Linked DNA regions of Homo sapiens: region 1 is linked to region 2. Evidence: promoter capture Hi-C in human tissues and cell types (Jung and others, 2019). All regions are on one chromosome and are shown on one strand. The core of a region is centred on a gene start or on the middle of the fragment in contact, and the rest is flanking DNA. Distances in the headings are between cores, read along the strand shown. Region 1 overlaps STARD9 (StAR related lipid transfer domain containing 9). Region 2 holds the start of EPB42 (erythrocyte membrane protein band 4.2).

Region 1 (5,005 bases), core at 2,006-4,505, 500 kb after region 2:
CTGGCAGACACAAGGCCAAGGGAGGTGAGTCAGACGGAACAAGAAGCCCTCTGCAGTCACACTCTGAACATCCACCACCCTTGCCCCAAACTATGAGCTGCTCTGCATCCTTTATTTCCCCTTCCTGTTCCACACAGAAATGGGCTCCATTTATCCATCTCAAGTCTCTTCCCAGCAGCTCTGCCCTTTGAGATCTCAATCTCTGTCATCAGGGTCACTCTGTCGTCCTCCTAGCAACCCTGACCTCGGTGTGTTTTGCAGTGGGACTTGCTGCTATTCTTGCTACGGGAGCTGGTGGAGAAGGGTCTGATGGGACGGATGGAGATAGAGGCCTGCCTGGGCAGCCTCCACCAGGCCCAGTGGCCAGGGGTAAGGAGTCTCCTGTCTTTTAGGTGGAGAGAGAACAGGTGTTACATATCCCATCTGTCCTGAAAGGAAGCAAGTGATGGGGCCAAACTAAGTGGATTTTTGTCAAGAGTCTTCAGGGCCACCCTGAAATTGTCCCGATTTGAGTAGTTATTATATGAGGGACTGTGTTAGTGGGAAGACGGACGAAAGGCAGGCAGTTAGTTGGAAAGCAGCACAGCCCATTATATGGGTTTTTAAAATTAGAATAACCTGGATTTTAACGGGAATAATAATTTCAAGATGAAGTAGATGCACTCAGTAGTACTCAAAAACTGGTCAAGCCTGTGCCTCCATCAGAGTTCGCTCCCTGCCATAACTTCAGCCTCCCAGAGTACTAACAAACAGACAAGGTTTCATGTCCATTTCAGTGTGGAGGGCAGTTGAGAAAAAATAATATAGCCAGCCAGGTTGTGGTCTTTAGTGACAAAGGATGAGCCATTGAGAATTATTACATGCTGCCTTTTCCCTCATCTTTCTATGTATTCCAGGACTTTGCTGAAGAATTAGCAACACTGTCTAATCTGTTTCTAGCCGAGCCCCACCTGCCAGAACCCCAGCTAAGAGCCTGTGAGTTGGTGCAGCCAAACCGGGGCACTGTGCTGGCCCAGAGCTAGGGCTGAGAAGTGGCCCTGCCTTGGGCATTGCACCAGAACCCTGGACCCCCGCCTCACGAGGAGGCCCAAGTGCCCAATGCAGACCCTCACTGGTTGGGGTGTAGCTGGGTCTACAGTCAGACTTCCTGCTCTAAGGGTGTCACTGCCTGGCATCCCACCACGCGAATCCTAGAGGAAGGAGAGTTGGCCTGATTTGGGATTATGGCAGAAAAGTCCAGAGATGCCAGTCCTGGAGTAGAAGAGGTGGTGTTTGTTTATCTCTTGGATACTAAATGAAATGAGGTGTGTGGGCTTGTCAACACAGAATTCAAGCCTCATTTGCTATCCCAGCATCTCTTAAAACTTTGTAGTCTTGGAATTCATGACAGAGGCAAATGACTCCTGCTTAACTTATGAAGAAAGTTAAAACATGAATCTTGGGAGTCTACATTTTCTTATCACCAGGAGCTGGACTGCCATCTCCTTATAAATGCCTAACACAGGCCGGGTCTGGTGGCTCATGCCTGTAATCCCAGCACTTTGAGAGGCCTGAGGTCGGCGGACTGCCTGAGGTCAGGAATTCAAGACCAGCCTGGCCAACATGGCAAAACCCCATCTCTACTAAAAATAAAAAAATTATTAGCTGGGCATGGTGGTGTGTGCCTGTAATCCCAGCTACTCAGGAGGATGAGGCAGGAGACCTGCTTGAACCTGGAGGTGGAGGTTGCAGTGAGCCGAGGTCGCACCACTGCACTCCAGTCTGGGTAACAGAGCGAGACTTTCTAGAAAAAGCCTAACAAACAGATAAGGTAGGACTCAACCAACTGAAACCTGACTTTCCCCCTGTACCTTCAGCCCCTGTGCAGGTAGTAACCTCTTGAGACCTCTCCCTGACCAGGGACCAAGCACAGGGCATTTAGAGCTTTTTAGAATAAACTGGTTTTCTTTAACAAGGGCTTGATGTCTAATCATTGTCACCTGTCTTCTCCCTTTAGAAGGCTGCAGTCTCGGGTGGGCTGTAGGTGGAGCGCTGTAATTGTGGCTTTGCTCTGTGCATTACAAGGTGAGCTACCTTGGCTCTTAGAAATGCCTGTATATTCCACTCTAGAGGGCTAGTCTCTGGTGGCAATATCTATTAATTTAATTTATCGCCAGTGGTACTGACTTCTCCTGTGTAACTCGCTTTATTTGTGGGAGAAAGGGTTAGGATAATGTAGTTTCCACACACAAGATATTCCCTACTGAACCACATGGTGGGGCAGTGTTCTTGTTAAGCTTGTTAAGGCTAAGGTGTTTGTTTGATTGATTTGGCTTGGAGTTTCTCAGAGCAAAAGCATTGCTTCTCGATTACAGCTGTATCAAGCTCTATAAATGAGCCACTGATTTTGACAGGTTCACACCTGTAATCCCAGTGCTTTGGGAAGCCGAGAGAGAGGACTACTTGAGTCCAGGAGTTAGAGGTTACAGTGAACTATGATTGTGCCACTGCACTCCAGCCTGAGCAAGAGTGAGACCCCCATCTCTTTGAGGGGAAAAAAAAAAAGCACTACTGTGATCATGTGCATTAATAACCAGGAGTTGGACTGATAATATAATCCTCAGGAGGACCTAAAGGGGTCCACTTGTGTGACCATGGTAGAGCCAGGAAATCCCATCAACCTAGAAAGTAAAAAATGGGAGTTTTCCTCAGTCACCACCTTGTGATCATACTTCTCCCAAACACCATGCCTTTCCCTTCTCCTCAGCTCAGCTACTCCTTTAACAAGTTTCTATATCTGAACCATTTTCCCCTGATCTCTTCATTTTCAAAGGCCTTTATCTTTATCCTTTAAATCCAATTTGTTCTGAATGCCTGGGAACCAAAAAAGCTTTAAGGAATGCTTTCTCGGCCGGACACAGTGGCTCACACCTGTAATCCCAGCACTTTGGGAGGTCAAGGCGGGAGGATCACTTGTGCTCAGGAGTTTGAACCAGCCGGGGCAACATGGGGAAGCCTCATCTTTAAAAAATACAAAATTGGTGAGGAGTGGTGGTCCATGCCTGTGGTCATAGCTACTTGGGAGGCTGAGGTCAGAGGATCACTTGAGCCCAGGAGGTCAAGGCTACAGTGAGCCATGATCACACCACTGCAGTCCAGCCTGGGCTACAGAGCGATACCCTGTCTGTCTCAAAAAAAAAAAAAAAGCTTTCTATGCCCAGAGACCAGCACTGGGTGTGATTAAACCATAGCACCGCCCCCACCCAGGAAGCTTAGGGTCAGCGTCAGGCTTGTGGCTACTCCTTGACTTGTTCCAGAGGACCCAGCTGAGGTGTGTGACATGGAATGGGCAGGAGAGGAAAACCTGAAACCCCTAAGGATGCTGAGACTGAAGGGCTGGGCCATAACCCAGGCCTGGCTTAAGGCCCACTGAGTTAAAAACAAGTTCTTGGGAATCTGAATGGAAATTTAACATGTTCCCGATGAAGGAAACTTCCTGCTGGCCTGTGTGAGCCTTAAAGGCTACTCTAAGGATTATGGAGACAGGCAGCTAGTGGGTCAGTGAACTAGATTCTGTATGTCTGCTCTCTAATTGTCAAAGCCAGCTGTTTATAAAATGTGGTCCCCAGACCAGCAAACTTCAGGGTCCCCTGGGACTTCTTGTTAACACAAATTCTCTGGTCCTTCTCCGGGGCTACCAAACCAGTAACTTGGGGTAGGGCCCATCCTGGGGCATAAGAAAGCGTTCAGGTGATTCTGATGTATGCGAAAGTATGACAACCACGCCATGAATCCAAAATCTGACTCCACTTTTGCTTTTTGCTACAAGATCCCTCTCAATCTTTCGCTTGCTGATTCAGTCAGGTCTGGTGTTGCTTTTTTTTTTTTTTTTTTTTGAGACAGAGTCTCACTCTGTTGCCCAGGCTGGAGTGCAGTGACACAATCTCGGCTCGGCTCACTGAAACCTCCCCCTCCCAGGTTCAAGCAATTCTTGTGCCTCAGCCTCCCAAGTAGCTGGGATTACAGGCACATGCCACCACGCCTGGCTAATTTTTTGTATTTTTAGTAGAGACAGGTTTCACCATGTTGGCCAGGCTGGTCTCAAACTCCTGACCTCAGGTGATCCACCCGCCTCAGCCTCCCAACGTGCTGGGATGACAGGCATGAGCCACCATGCCCGGCTGGCTTCTCTATTAAGGCGGGCAGGGTCACCTCCTGGTTATCCCCTGACTCAGATTCCCATAGGTGGCTCTGCCTCAGAAGCCCCAGGGCACTGTGGTCACTGTTAGGTGTGGCAGTGACTGTTCTGGATTCTCCCCTTTAGTTCTTACTTGGGCTATAGTTGAGCAACTTACCTGGTTGCTGTTTACCCTGCAAAGCAATGCCAAGTTCATGGGAAACTGTACATACATGTAAACTGAATCTTTGAAACAGCTATGAGTGGGTATTGCCAGGGTGATCTCCAGCTAATCTGCCAAGCTCGAATCACACACTTAGGCTATCCCGGTGCAGGATTTCATCTACTCTTCACTAGATAAAGTACACAGAGGACTTTTAATTTTAAAATGTTCTTTTTTGGTCAGTAGTCTTAGTAAGAGATTTATATGAAAAGAGGTAGGAGTATATAAATAGGGTGTTAAATATATCATGTCACCAAAAAATTTACCCGAGAAATAGAAGTTTAAAAGCAATTTTAAAAAACCTTCAATCAACAATATATAAATAACTTAATCTGAGGTAAGAGGGAAAAATGCCCTGCAAACACTTTAGAAAAACACATCTCTGCCACACTACAGAAATAGACCTTTACCACATCTTCTGAATCCCCAGTTCCCTCCATCTACCAAAGATTTTGGGCACCAGAACTAAAGATGAGAATCTCTCCCACCCCTACCACTTCCAGGTAAACACAAAGTTCATGTTCAGCCAGGCTAAAGTACAAGAAAACTGAACCCACTCTCCATCCCACCCCATCCTAGGATAGGTGGGGCCAGGGCAGAAATCATGGAATGCTCAGGACTCCACC
Region 2 (4,590 bases), core at 632-3,131:
TCATTTTTTCTTCTATTACTTTAAGAATTTAATAAGAGTTTTGATCCATCTGAAATTTATTTTGATGTGTGGCATAAGATAGGAAGCCAACTGTATTTTGACAAGCTAGTTGTCCCAAAATCATTTACTGATAAATCCTTCATTTCCCCATGGATTTGAAGTGCCACATTTAGCATACATTTAATACATGTATTTTGATCTATGGACTTTTCAATTACAGTAATATCATATTATGTGTTCATATCTAGGAAGGCTGGTCACACTTTATTATTATCTTAGAAATTTCCTTTTGAACCTTAGAATCAGTTTACCTAGTTTCAAAAAACAATCTTGGTGTTTTTATTGGGAATGAATTAAACTTAAGATCAACTTGGGAAGAAATGACCGCTTTATAAAGTTGAGTTGTCCTACACAGGATGGTGATCTTCCTTTTTATCTGCTCAAGTCTTATTTGGTGTCCCTCCATACCGTTTCCAAGTGTTTTACTGACAGCACTTCACATTTCTTAAGTTTATTTCTAGAAATTTCACCTTTTGTTGTTGTTGCTATTATAGGTTGGGTCTTTAATTACAGTTTCTGACTTGTTATTGATTGCAGGTATGAAAACTATTGGCTTCTATACTTTTGGTATTAGCCAGCTCACTAAATTACCTTTTATAATCATTGTTAGTAGATTCAAGTTTTCCAGGTAAAAAATGACATCTTCAAATAATGAAAAATTAACTTCTTCATTTCTTATGAAGGATTTTTTTTTTTTTTTCTGAGATGGAGTCTTGCTCCATGCTGGCTGTGCAGTGGCACGATCTTGGCTCACTGCAACCTCAGCCTCCCAGGTTCAAGCAATTCTTCTGCCTTAGCCTCCTGAGTAGCTGGGAGTACAGGCGCCTGCCACCACGCCCAGCTAATTTTTGTATTTTTAGTAGAGAGAGGGTTTCACCATATTGGCCAGGCTGGTCTCGAACTCCTGACCTCAGGTGATCCGCCTGACTTGGCTTCCCAAAGTGCTGGGATTACAGGCATGAGCCACTGCGCTAGTGAAAGGCAGAAGTTTCATTTTTTTTTTTTTTTTTTTTTTTTACATAATAAGATCCTTCAAATGAGTTCAAAAGTTCAAAGTTTTAAAAGTATAAAAGAGTAAACAGCAGAAAGATAACCTTTCTACCCCACTGCCCAGATCCCCTCCCCACAGGCAACCAATATTTTTGGCAGTGTGTTTTATATCATTCTATAGACGTCTCATGTATATGCAGCAAGTACAGCTGCCCTGAAAGTGCTTCTGGTAACACAGTTTCACAAGCCCAGGTAGGGCCAAATATGAGATCCTTCTCTTGTCTCTTCAGGAACTAAAGAAAGAAAAATTGAAAAGACATAGGGCCTGAGTCCCAAGATAGTTCCCAACCTTCTCTGGTAGAGGGTCCCAGACCAGGTAGGCTTGGAAGAGTTGGGGCCCCAGCTTCTACTTTTAATACATTTATTTTTCACCAACAAATTCTACTTCCTTATCTTTTTCACACAGATAAATTGCAGATGCACGTGTTCTCTCTATTATCAAAACAGCCCATGAACATCTTGCAACTTGCAGCCCCTGTCACGTTTAGGGCCTGAGATTTGGAGTTGGATATGGGACTCCTGTTTGTGGCCTCCTCTCTTCCAGAGTCTTCCAGTGCAGTCCAGATAACATCTCTGAGAGTCTCTTGAGACCACTGAAGCAAGAGGCTTCAAGGTTTGTTCTAGGCTTCTCTAGTTGGCAGGTCTTCCCCATCCCACCCCCTCCCCCAGGGCTGCCAGGCGTATTCCTGCCTGGGCCTCCTGGCACAAGAGATAAAATGAACAGGGTTACTCCCAGTAACTGGTCCAGGAGATACCAGCAGAGAGGGAGTAGGAGAGAAGAAACATGTCAGGGTGCTCACAGGAGTAGTGGGGGGAGGTTTTGCTATTTCCAGATTCTTAAGCCAACAAAAGTGCCTTCATATTTTCTGTCTGGAAGACAGAAAGCCCAGAAGGAGCCCAGAAGCAACAGTTTGAGAGAGGCGCTTTCTGCGGCCAAGTGGATAAGAGGAGCGGCCTGCAACCATGGGACAGGGTGAGCCAAGCCAGCGCTCGACAGGGCTTGCTGGACTGTATGCAGCCCCCGCAGCATCACCTGTTTTCATTAAAGGAAGTGGGATGGATGGTAGGCGGGGAGATGGTGGTATAACTATGGTGGGGGAGGGGGTACTGGTGATAATGAGGTGGCTGTGGGGGGGGGGTGTGGTAGGTGGGTGCTGGTAGAGGTGATAGTGAGCTGGCTGTGGAGCGTGGTGTGATGATGGGTGCTGGTGGAGGCGGAGGCGGAGGTGATGGTGATGTTGCTGTGGGGTGGTTATGGGGTAGCATGTTGGGGTAAACTGGTCATGATAGTTGTATGATGGTGAGATGGTGATGGTGGTTAACATGGATTTATATTCTTATCCCAAGGTCATCATAGCATAAGTGTTCACAGCTTACTGATACAAATGAGAGACACCCTGGGTAGCATGAAGGTGTCACAGCTTCTACACCAAATGGGAGAGAAGGAGAGGAGGGAGTCAGGGAATCCACCTAAAAGGGGCAGAGGCAGACACAAAGCAAGAAACCAACACAGGTGGTCAGAGTCGCAGCACTCTTGGCAGGAATTATTATATCCTGGCCTGGGAATTGCCTGGCTGTTTTGTGTCCTGGGAGAAGCAAGCGGGTAGGCAGAGGGAAATGGTGCAGAGGTGTGGGGACAGTGGGGTGCAGCTGTGGTTCTGTTGCTATAGAAACTGCCTCACTCCCCTGCCCTGGTTGGTCTGGTGTGCGGAGGGCAACTGACGCTGAGACCAACAGCTGAGAAGGGAAGAAAAAGAACTCTGGGTGAATTAAGTCAATAATCTCAGCCACGTCTTGTGAAAATAGGGCAGACACCAATAAATTGTCCTTTTTTTTTTTTTTTTTAAACGGAGTCTCTCTCTGTCACCAGGCTAGAGTTCAGTGGCGCAATCTCGGCTCACTGCAACCTCCGCCTCCTGGGTTCAAGTGATTCTCCTGCCTCAGCCTTCTGAGTAGCTGGGACTACAGGCACCCACCACCATGCCCGGCTAATTTTTTGTATTTTTAGTAGAGACGGAGTTTCACCTTGTTGGCCAGGATGGTCTCGATCTCTTGACCTCGTGATCCTCCGCCTCGGCCTCCCAAAGTTCTGGGATTACAGGCGTGAGCCACTGCGCCTGGCCAAATCGTTCTTTTTATTCTGTAGAGACCAGACAAATTAAAATCTACTCAATCAGAGAAACACAAAGATATCAGGAGATTGTTTAGTCTAGTCCCAAACCAGAGGATGCCCCTGGGCACTAAATTCTTTCCAGGCAGTGGGTGGCAGAGGGCCCAGTAGCCACCAGATGAGAATCACTGAGTATGAACTCATGACATGCTGCAGTGGCTGGAGCTGGCTTGTGCTGACTTGCAAGAGCCAATTGCTAAATTTTGAGGAACCTTGTGAACCAGTTCTTAAACACAGGCATTATTAAAAATTAAATTGTATAAACTTACAAGTAAAAAATTTATATTAAAAAGAAAGATAATAAGTACTCTAAACTCATCACTTCCTACGTATTTTACTCCTTTTTACCTTTATGTTCTTGAGGGCGTTTATGTCTCCTGTATCTCTGTGCTGGAAAAACCACATGATGATGTGCCAGTCCGCGCCTCTTCACAGCTCTGCGCTTGCTGACATCACCTCAGTAGCTTCAGACTGGCCACAGGGGGCGTAGTTTACACAACAGAACTTGGCAAATGCTGTAACTCAGTACGCCCTTTCCCCTCACCGCCCCCTCCCCCCAGCCAGTCGTTAAACACAGAACTGCTTGAGGGGCACATCTGAGGCAGCTCTGGGGTATTGTGAAAGGCAGAGAGGGAGGAGGGTGGGGTATTGTGCACCTCTGAAGAGCATTCCACATGATCTCCGGGTTAACACAACTTCTCATGGGCTGTGGTACAAATAGGAGATGGTGAGAAAACACGAAGGTATCATTGCCTCAAGACCCAGTGGGAGAGAAGGGGAGGCAGGAGTCAATGAATCCACCTAAAAGGGGCAGAGGCAGAGATAAACCAAGAAACCAGGCAGACCTAAAGAATGCAGAAACCTCAGGGGCCCTGCGAGGGTCTGGCAGCACAGGTGGGGGCCTGAGGCCCCTGTGATGTATCTGAGAAAATCTCCTTTAAGGCCGTCTCAATGTTCTCATCCATTCATTGACGGAGCAAACACTGATTGGCTATCTATTGAGTTCTGCTGGGACAGAGGATGCAGATATGAGAAAGCACTGTATCTTGGGGAGCTCACAGTGAAAAGGGGAGCAGAGGACTAAGCAGGTGATGGGTATCAAATGGGATAAGTGCTGAAGAAAGTGGAGCAGAGTACTGTGGGAGTCCAGAGGACTGACCTCTGCCAGGAGGAGTCAGTGAAGGCTACAGAGGTGGGTGCCTTTGGATCTTGGAAGATGAGTAGACATCTGCCAGGTAGAGAAGAGATGGTGGGAGCCTTCTAGACAGAACAAGAATCCAAATGAATTCTAGTGACTCTTGCCGTAACAC

The links. Contacts are between HindIII fragments. The study calls those that stand out against the background at their distance.
Region 1: a contact is called between a fragment that was not itself captured here and the fragment with the promoter of EPB42 in region 2, in 1 of the 25 tissues and cell types used here (heart right ventricle).

What each region holds. Positions count from the first base shown.
Region 1 is chr15:42,720,508-42,725,512 of GRCh38, reverse strand. It overlaps STARD9 (StAR related lipid transfer domain containing 9), which reads right to left. Exons shown (of 33, transcript NM_020759.3): 33 at 4,515-5,005. CDAN1 (codanin 1) reads left to right here. Exons shown (of 28, transcript NM_138477.4): 26 at 1-24; 27 at 262-369; 28 at 897-1,969. The coding sequence ends at 1,022. Among named protein-coding and RNA genes, the nearest start is that of CDAN1, 14 kb to the left of the region's middle. The HindIII fragment of the contact is 4,414 bases long and covers 1,049-5,005 here.
Region 2 is chr15:43,218,309-43,222,898 of GRCh38, reverse strand. EPB42 (erythrocyte membrane protein band 4.2) reads left to right here and starts at 1,881. Exons shown (of 13, transcript NM_001114134.2): 1 at 1,881-2,083. The coding sequence starts at 2,074. The HindIII fragment of the contact is 9,374 bases long and covers 1-4,590 here.